Linked DNA regions of Homo sapiens: region 1 is linked to region 2. The links are contacts of gene promoters, found by promoter capture Hi-C in human tissues and cell types (Jung and others, 2019). All regions are on one chromosome and are shown on one strand. Each heading gives the region's core, a stretch centred on a gene start or on the middle of the fragment in contact. The rest is flanking DNA. Distances are from core to core; before and after follow the strand shown. Region 1 has its middle 40 kb from the start of ADAMTS2. Region 2 holds the start of ADAMTS2 (ADAM metallopeptidase with thrombospondin type 1 motif 2).

What was found. The method cuts DNA at HindIII sites, captures the fragments that hold promoters and counts their contacts. A contact is called where the count stands out against the background at its distance.
Region 1: a contact is called between a fragment that was not itself captured here and the fragment with the promoter of ADAMTS2 in region 2, in 1 of the 25 tissues and cell types used here (adrenal gland).

The regions. Positions count from the first base shown.
Region 1 is chr5:179,383,337-179,387,916 of GRCh38, forward strand. No RefSeq gene overlaps it. Among named protein-coding and RNA genes, the nearest start is that of ADAMTS2, 40 kb to the left of the region's middle. RefSeq lists an enhancer at 3,664-4,165. The HindIII fragment of the contact is 7,295 bases long and covers 1-4,580 here.
Region 2 is chr5:179,343,368-179,348,108 of GRCh38, forward strand. ADAMTS2 (ADAM metallopeptidase with thrombospondin type 1 motif 2) reads right to left here and starts at 2,094. Exons shown (of 22, transcript NM_014244.5): 1 at 1,823-2,094; 2 at 400-794. The coding sequence starts at 1,961. LOC105377759 (a long non-coding RNA gene) reads right to left here. Exons shown (of 3, transcript XR_941311.3): 2 at 3,579-3,731; 3 at 2,994-3,412. The HindIII fragment of the contact is 12,907 bases long and covers 1-4,741 here.

The DNA of each region.
Region 1 (4,580 bases), core at 218-2,717, 39 kb after region 2:
CGGGTTCACGCCATTCTCCTGCCTCAGCCTCCCGAGTAGCTGGGACTACAGGCGCCCACCACCACGCCCGGATTAATTTTTTGTATTTTTACTAGAGACAGGGTTTCCCCATGTTAGCCAGGACGGTCTCGATCTCCCGACCTCATGATCCGCCCGCCTCAGCCTCCCAAAGTGCTGGAATTACAGGCGTGAGCCACCGCGCCCGGCCGGGCTGTGGTGTTCTTTACTAAACAGATAGCCTTGATTTTGATTTAGCCAAATCCATTCTTTTTTCAGCCCAGGTTTGCATGTGGGGAGTTTTGCTTAAGAAAACTTTCCCCCGCTATAGGTCACAAAGATGTTATCCTGAGTATTCACTGATCAGCTCTGAAGCTTTCCCTTCCATCCGTAGGCCTTTAATCCAGCTGGGGACCACCTGGAATACTGGGGTGAAGTGGAAGTCCGGCTTCAAAGGGAGCCAGTTTTCCCAGCTTCATTCACTAAACAACCAGCCTTGCCCTTTCCCTTTGTGCTGCCACCTTTATCGAGTTCCTGTCTACCCCAGGTCTGTTTTGATCTCTCTGTTCCATGGTCCTGACGCCTGGCCTATGCTGTTCCCAGGACCACGGCCTCTGCAACACACAATGGCGCCTGCTCAGGAGTTGCCCTGCCCCTTCTCTGCTCTGTGGTTCAAAATTGACTTAGTTTTTTGTGTTAGGCCATTTGAGCTGCTATTTAAAAAGTACCATAAACAGGTTAGCTAATAAACAACAGAAATTTTTCTTTTTTTCTTTCTTTTTTTTTTTTTGAGACAGTCTCACTCTGTGGCCCAGGCTGGAGTGCAGTGGCACGATCTTTGCTCACTGCAATCTTGGCGTCCTGGGCTCAAGCGATTCTCCCACCTCAACCTCTTAAGTAGCTGGGACTACAAGCACGTCCCATCATGCCTGGCTAATTTTTTAATTTTTTAATTTTTTTTTTTTTTTTGTAGAGACACGGTTTCGCCATGTTGCCCAGGCTAGTATCCAACCCCTGGGCTCGAGTGATCCGCCTGCCTTGGCCTTCCAAAGTTCTGGGATTGCAGATATAAGCAACTGTGCCTAGCCTACAGCAAAAAATTGTTGCTCATAGTTCTGGAGGCTGGCAAGTCCGAGATCAAGGTGCTGGCAGTTTCTTTTTATTTTATTTTATTTTACTTTTTTTTTTTTTTTCAGAGTCTTGCTTTGTCACCCAGGCTGGAGTGCAGTGGCGCGATTTCGGCTCACTGCAAGCTCTGCCTCCCAGGTTCATGCAATTCTCCTGCCTCAGCCTCCCAAGTAGCTGGGATTACAAGCATGTGCCATCACACCTGGCTAATTTTTGTATTTTTAGTAGAGATGGGGTTTTACCATGTTGGCAGGCTGGTCTCGAACTCCAGATCTCAGGTGATCTGCTCGCCTCAGCCTCCCAAAGTGCTGGGATTACAGGAGTGAGTCACTGCGCCTGGCCAAGGTGCCGGCAGTTTCAGTGTCTGGTGAGGCCACGTCCTCATAGCCCTCCTCACTGTGTCCCCACGTGGTGGAGGAGGCAAGGCAGCTCTCTGGGCCTCTTGTATAAGGGCACTCGTCCCATTCGGGAGGGCAGCACCCTCATGACCTCATCACCTCCCAAATACCTCTCCTTTCCCATTTTTCTACTGGGTTAGTTTCTACTAGCCCCACTTCCTAATCCCATCACAGCGGGGACTAGGTGGTAGCATGTGAATTCTGGGGGAACACAAACATTCAGATTATAGCATTTGTCTTACACCTTGATCCTTCCACATAAATTCACAGTGAGTTTATTCATCTCCTCGACAATTCCAGCTGGAATTTTGATCAGGATTACATTTAATGCATAGGTGAATCTGGTACTGTTGGGAACCTGTAACATTAAAGTATCTCTTCGTTTAATAATGACTCAAGCTGTGTTCTTTTTTTTTTTTTTTTTTGAGACTGAGTCTCGTTCTGTTGCCCTGGCTGGAGTGCAGTGGCACGATCTCGGCTCACTGCAAGCTCCGCCTCTCGGGTTCCAGCCATTCTCCTGCCTCAGCCTCCCGAGTAGCCGGGACTATAGGCACCTGCCACCACGCCCGGCTAATTTTTTGTATTTTTAGTAGAGACGGGGTTTCACTGTGTTAGCCAGGATGGTCTCAATCTCCTGACCTCGTGATCTGCCCGCCTCGGCCTCCCAAAGTGTTTGAATTACAGGCGTGAGCCACCGCGCCCGGCCTACGACTCCAGCTATGTTCTCTACTGGAATGTTCAATTTTTGTAGAAAAACCACGTGCGTTCTTTGTTATGTGGATTCCAGGGTGCGTTTTAGGTTTTCGAGCATTGCAAATGGTGACCTTTTTTTCAATGTATTGGTCACTTTTCATTAATAACTTGTTCCTATGAAGCACTTCACAGTATTTTTGAAATATTAACATTTTTGTGGTACATTTGCCATATATGTTTCTTTACTCCATTTTTCAGTAAAGATAATTTATTTGGCTGCCAGTGTCTCATCATCGATAAGACCAGTGGAGGGTTTAGACCAGCTGTTTGTGGATTGTTTGAAGAGAGCTGTGTAAATCTGTAGTCCAGGGGAAATTCTCCTGTTACTTCAAAACTTGAAAGAGCAATAGTATGGTAAGTACTGATTCTCTTACAAGACTATGAAGCCAGATGTCTGTACTTTCCAGTGCCCAAATTGAATGAATAATAGAGAGAACAGCCTAATACAGCAAGGGCGGGGCTGGGCGTGGTGAAGCTCCTGCTTCTCCTCCCGGGCATGCTGCCTCCCAGCACTCTCTGCGTTCACCGTCCAGAAAACACCATGACTTAGTTTTAGTTGGCTGTGTCACGGGTGTAAAGAGAAGCTGGTGGGCCGGTGAGTTGGCCACATATCCAGCAGCCTTGCCTAAGCTCCCTGCTAGTTCTGTTATCTTGCCTGCTGATTCCATGGGTTTATGTGATGTTATCATCTGCAAGGAATGAGGCCCTATCTTTTCCCTTCTGATCCTGACGGGTCTTCTGCCACTTTCATCCCTCAGAGCCTTAGTCCACCCCCTTAGTAGTGGGGCCCATGTGGGCTCACAGTGAGAAGATTCATCTTCGCCAGGATTCTTGGTGCAGTCGGCTTTTGGGGTGTAGCAATTATGAAGTTAAGAAACTTTCTGTCTACTCTTAGTTTCCTGAGAGTTTTTAAAAGTCATATATAAGCACCAAACTGTGGTTTTCTCAATCTATGAAGATACTTGATATCAGCATTCTTAAAAATATATTTTAAAATTGGCCAGGCACAGTGCCTCATGCGTGTAATCCCAGCACTTTGGGAGGCCGAGGCGGGCAGATCACCTCAGGTCAGGAGTTCAAGACCAGCCTGGCCAACATGGTGAAACCCCATCTCTACTAAAAATACAAAAATTAGCCAGGCATGATAGCAGGCGCCTGTAATCCCAGCTACTTGGGAGGCTGAGGCAGGGAGGATTGCTTGAACTCAGGAGGTGGAGGTTGCAGTAAGCTGAGATATATGTATTTAAATTTCCAAGAGTGCACTTTTTTTTCAGTAATAGCTAAAAAAAAATCTAAGGGAACCAACTGTAGACACTGTAAGGTAACCAGTCAGGTAAGGATGGTAATGAACCAGCCTGGGCCACCAGCTCCACCCTCAGCCTAGCTGGGGACCCAGTGCAGGAGTGGAGAAGACTTTGGGTGTGGAGAATTAAAATGAGACTGCAGGAAGAGAGGGCATTTCTGCCTGATGCAGAGGGGAGGTGGCTGCTAGGGTGGAGAGGGCCTGTTGGTTGTGGCCAAGGGGGCAGAGTCCAGTGAGCCCCATGGCCTCAGGTGAGCCATTGCCTCTCCCCCAGCCCCACACTGTTACAGGACCTAGAACAGCAACCTCAGTGTGTCCTGCAGGTGGGAGAGTGGGATCAGGTCCTCTAGAGTGAAACCCAGGTAAGAGCTGGCGCAGGGAGAATTGTGAGCTGGCCCCGGAGCTTCCCTTCCCTCCCCACACAGCCCCTGCCCTCACTGAGCACTGGCCAGCTATAGACAAAGGGGAAAGCTCTTGGAAGACAGCAGTCCCCAGGCTGCTGGATCTAGAAGGTCTGTGAGGGGCAGGGCCACTTGGTTGGAGGCAGCTCAGAGTGGCCATCAAGCCTAGACTGTGGGGCTCACTTTGGGCTCTTTGCCCTGGGGCACGCCCTCTTCCCAAATCCACCGGAAACATCCCGAGCTGCTGAAACTAGTCCCCCCGACACAGTGCTCAGCCTCAGACAAGGTAACTGATCCCCCAGGAGACACTGCTGACGACCACCCACAGGTAAACACAGGTGTCTAAACCTTTGGAAACAGATTGCCTCAGCAGGGAATGTGCTTTCCAGCGGCCACAGACCCCGCCACTCCCTTTTGTTCAGCATCTAACCTGATTGATTCGTGTTTCACTCCTGGCCCCTCTGGGGATTTGAATTTGCAAGTCCCCAGAGGCCCAGTTTCAGGTTCCTCCTGCCTTTACTGATCTAATAATGGTGACAGTGTGATTTTGTGCACAGCATCTGCCCCGGGACAAGCCGCATGATCTCCGTTTAGGGTAGA
Region 2 (4,741 bases), core at 844-3,343:
ACACAGGTGCACGGGCACCCAGATGCAGGTACACACCAACGTTCCACAACACATGTGCACACACTCACAAAGGTACACACACATACACGGACCCACCCCCGGATGCAAGCCAGAGACCTGTTCAGGCAGGCAAAAGAGAGAGGCGCACGCTCCTGCCTGCTGAGCCTTTTGGAGACCCGGGCGCTCCCCATGCATAAATGGCCCCCTGCTCAGACCAGTCAAAACAACCTGCTTTCCAGCCAAGCCCTTCAGTTGGAGCACGAGGCTCACTAAAGCACGGGAAGGGCGCGGAAAGTCCTCAGCGCAGGCCTTGCCCTCCCAAGGGACTCCCAGGTAACCCTTTTCCAAAACCCAGGCGAGAGCAGCGGAGAGAAAGGAGCTAGAGAAGTGCGTACTCACCAGCCCATCGCAGTTGCTGAGCGCCACAGAGGAGGCTTCGGCTAGGCCGGCCACGTCTCCGACGTAGAGACAGCTCCCGAGCAGGGGCTCCACGCGGGTGGTGCCCTTCTCGCCCTGCCACTCCATAGTGGCCCCGGGCGCCACGAGGCGGGCGTTGGGCCGCAGCCGCAGGTGCAGGTCTCGGCCAAAGACCGTGACATTGTAGAAGAGGTGACTGCCAGGCTCCTCCTCGTTGCCTCCGGGGAAGCTCGGGGTCCGGACCGGGGCGGCCCTGCGGGCTCGTACCCCTGCTCTGGACGTAGCTGCCGACACCACGTGGGACACCAAGCGGCCCTGGGCGTCAGTGCGCACGGGCACCGCCAGGATGCGCTCCGCTCCGTGCCCCAGGGGCCCGCCTGCAACGGGAAGGGGCGTTAGATCGGCGGAGACCACGGAGCCCCAGTGCCTCAGAGACCCGCCGGCAAGCCACGCCCCCCCAGACCCCGCCCCACTGCGAAGGGAAGGGGCATTCCGCCAGGCGACCCCAGAAGCCAGCCTGCACCTCCCCGGCTTTCCTGCAACCGGGAAGGGGCGTTAACAGGGCCACCACTCCGGGGCTCCGCCACTCCCCAGCCGTTCCCTCCTCCGGAGACCTTGCCTGCCAAGAGCTCTGCCCCCTGCCCCGTTCAGGGTTGGGGCTCGGTGGGAACCTCCCCGTGCCCGAAGGGACGACCCCGTCAGAGAGTCCCCCGACCCTTGCACCTACCGTCCTTGGCAGGACGTGGAGCTGCTCGGAAGCCATTCCGGGTTGGCCCCCTTACCCGTGTGCCACGACCCCTCGGCGGGCCCCTGCCGCCCGAGTGCCCTCACCGCCAGCCTCCGGAGCGGCGGAGTCTCGGCTTCCCCGAGCACGAGCGGCCTGTCCTGCCTGTCCAGCTCCCGCTCAGCCCGCTGCCGGCCCCGTCTCCCCGAGCGCCCGAGGACTGGGAGGGGTGGAACAGGGTCCCTCCGATCTCCGGGGATTCCCTGCGGGGCGCCCCAACCAATCCTTAGGGCCCAAGGCTACGCGCTCGGCAGCCGGCTCCTCCGGAGCGTCCCCGGACGCGAGCCCCGGCGCCGCCTCGCCCTGGCTCCCCCCTCGGACCCGCTGGGGCTGACTCTGCGCTCTTGGCCGCGGGGCTTTTCCCGGCCCTCCGTCCCCACCCTCCGCGACTCAGGAGCCGCCAGTGCTCCGAGGCTCCCCCGGCCCAAGGCGCTCGGGGGCGGTGCGGGGCGCCCCCTGCGCGACCAACCCGGCCCCGAAGTTGGCCAACTTGGCCCCGGGCGGGGCGCGCGGAGTTTGCCCAAGTCAGGCTGGACGACGCCTGGGGAGGGGGCGGCGGGGCACGCGGGACAGGGCCAGGCCGGCGGGGGTCCCGGGGAGTAGGGGCCGGGCCGCACCTACCTGGGGGGTCGGCGGCGGCGGCGAGCCTGGCGTTCGCGGGCGGCGGCGGCGGCGGCAGGAGCGGCGGCGGCAGCAGCAGCAGCAGCAGCAGCAGCGCGGGGCAGAGCAGGCGGCGAGCGGCTCCCGCCGGCGGATCCATGGCAGCCGGACTGCAGCCGGGGCCCCGCACTCGCAGCCGGCGCGAAAGTTCCCCGCGAGCCGCCCAGCCCACATCTGGGGGCAGCTGGAGCCGCCCGCAGCTGCAGCACCGCAGGGCGCGGGGCGGAGGAGGCGAGGCGCGGAGGGGCGGGCGGGGGAGCGCGGAGGGAAGGCGGGGAGAGGGAAGGAGCGAGCGAGCGAGGGAGGCAGGCGGGAGGGAGGGAGGCGAGCGAGGGGGAGGGCGGGGACGGCGGGCGCCTCAGCCTGCGGTGACCCGGCGCATCTTGGCGCGGCCGCCGCCGCCGCCCGCTTCCCTCTTCGCGCCGCCGTCGCCGCGGTGCCGGGCTCGCAGCGAAGCAGAGACACCCCGAGGCGGCGGCAGAGAAGCGCCGCGGGCCGGGCCGGGGGAGCCCCGCCGCCAGCCACCCCAGGGGCACAACCTCCGAGGAGCGGCGCCGGCCGAACGTCCCCACCTAGAGAGCCCTTGGGGTGCCGGGTCCCACCCATCAGCCCTGGAATTCAAGGGGTGCATCCCCCTGTCTCTGTGCTCTGGGGCAGGACAGGGTGAGGGAATGAAAGGGGAGGGGGGACTGACTACTGGGTCCAAGGTCTGAGCCAGGCCGAATGCCCAAATAGAGGCCGCAAAGGCCAGAAGATGCTGTTAGGAGGGTACACCCAGGGCGCGACCCCAAAGATCAACTTTTGCCCTTACTGAGAGAGGCAAGGCTCCTTCAGTCCCCAGTTCCTCTTCCTCTGAAGTCCCTGTCCCCTGTCCCCCATCTGCCTTCCCATCCCTCCGCTGCAGCCTCAGCACAGCCTCTTCCTGCCAGACCTGGGCTCTCTGCCCATGAGCACAGTCAGGCTCCTGCCCTCACCTGTCCTCAACCCCACGTATGCATTCTGTCCTCCCGCCATTGCACTCCCGGCCCCCAACCTGAAATGGCCTCTCCAAGCTCTGCCTACCTTTTCCACCCAAGCATCCAAGGACACCTGGGCCCATTCTGGGGCCAGTTTGCTGTTAGAGCCCGTTGCCAACCGGAACCCCTCCCCAGTCCCTCCTCTCCAGCAAGGCCCTGATCCTCCCATGCTGTCTGAGCTCAGCGGCCTCTCTCCAGGGCCTGCCTGAGAGCCCCCTCTCAGGCTGTTGATCATCTCTGCCCTGGGACCCCCAATTTCTGCCTCACTTCCCCAGAGGGTGAACACCCACCCCTTTGATTTTCTCATTTGCCCTGCCCCAGGTCTGTGTGGCCAGGGCTTTGGTCTTTGCTTTGGCCAGGGGCAGAGGACCCGGAGATGACTCAGGCCTCTCCCTGCTGGCCAGGAGGTCCCAGTCGTTGGGGGAAACACGACTTACACAGCAGGCTCTAACTGTGATCTCACGTCCTTGGTTCTTTCGATTGTGGGTCCTGGGTGTGAGAGCATCGCAGCTGGACAGCCATCTTCACCTGCAAGCTGTACTCTTTCTGTGTCACCTAAGGGTGCCCGAGGCTGGATCCAGCTCCCAGGCATGGTGAGATGTCACATGGAAATTTAGATTGGTAACTTTTCTTGAGATATTGGAAGATGTGGCCACGCTAGCCCCACAGTCCTGCTTAGCAACCATTAAATGGGCACTTACCTTGCAGTTTGTGGCAGGTCCCGCCTCTCCTCACTCTCTGTAGGCATCTGCTCTCGTGACCTGTGATGACCCAACTGGTTCCAGAGAAAGTTGGAACTGGAATCCTAGTATACCACAGAGATGACTCCAGAGCTGGGCATCCAGGAGGACTTCCTGTAAGAGGTGGCATGAGTTGAATTGTGAAGGCTGGGGGAGCTAGGCAGCCCAGAGTTGGGTCCAGCCAGTTGCTGTCCTGGAACCCATGACGCATTCCTCCTGTGGTTGTCAGCGCTTCCATCCTCTTCGAAACACGAGTGAAACCCAACCAGCAGCCGCCCCTACTTCAAGGGGCATGTTCTGCACCTTCCTGCCGTGTCTATGGTTGGGTATTTCTTTACACAGCGCCTAAAACTTTTTTCAATTTTTTAAAGGATACTTTAAATCACTACTATAAATGGAAAAGCCAGCATCTCACCATGTTTCCATAAATCAAAGATAATTGCTAAAAATAAATACAACAAGAAGAGAAATGTTATCAAATTCCAGATACTTTGACCTGCTAAAGATACCGAAGGCTGAAGCTGATTAGTAAGTGTTACAAAAGCCTTAAGATGGACTAGCACAGAGGTCGTTGTTCTGATGTGATTGGAAGGATGAAAGGAGGCCTGAAAAGGAGTAACTCTGACTTTATGAGTTGATGGCATCTTCTAACAGGTTCACAGAGCTAAATTATTTTGTATACTTTGGGATACTTGCTTTGGGATATTTTTGGGGGAAAGAATTTGTCTCCTGGACACTGAATAACCCCAGGCAGCTGATTCTTCCCACATCACCCGTGCCCCTGCCACCAGGGATGAGTTGGGGATGGAGCAGCACCCTTGCCTGGCCCTTCCTTTAGTGCCCCCACTGTCACCCACCAGGGTGGTGGATGAACAAGGCTCACATGCACCTAACTTCACAGTTAAACCCTCAGGGAGGTGGAGGAGACTTGCAGACACATCCCAGCCCGTGATCATTTGTCCTCCACTCAGAAACAAACAGAAAAACAAAAAACAACCAAAGAACAACAACAAAAATCTTGCTACTTCTTCAAACCTCCATGATTCAAATCTTGCCTCTCCCCCCTTACTGGTGTTTGCCTCTTTCTCTGGTCCCCCTTTTCCTCTTCCAGGTAAAATACGGGA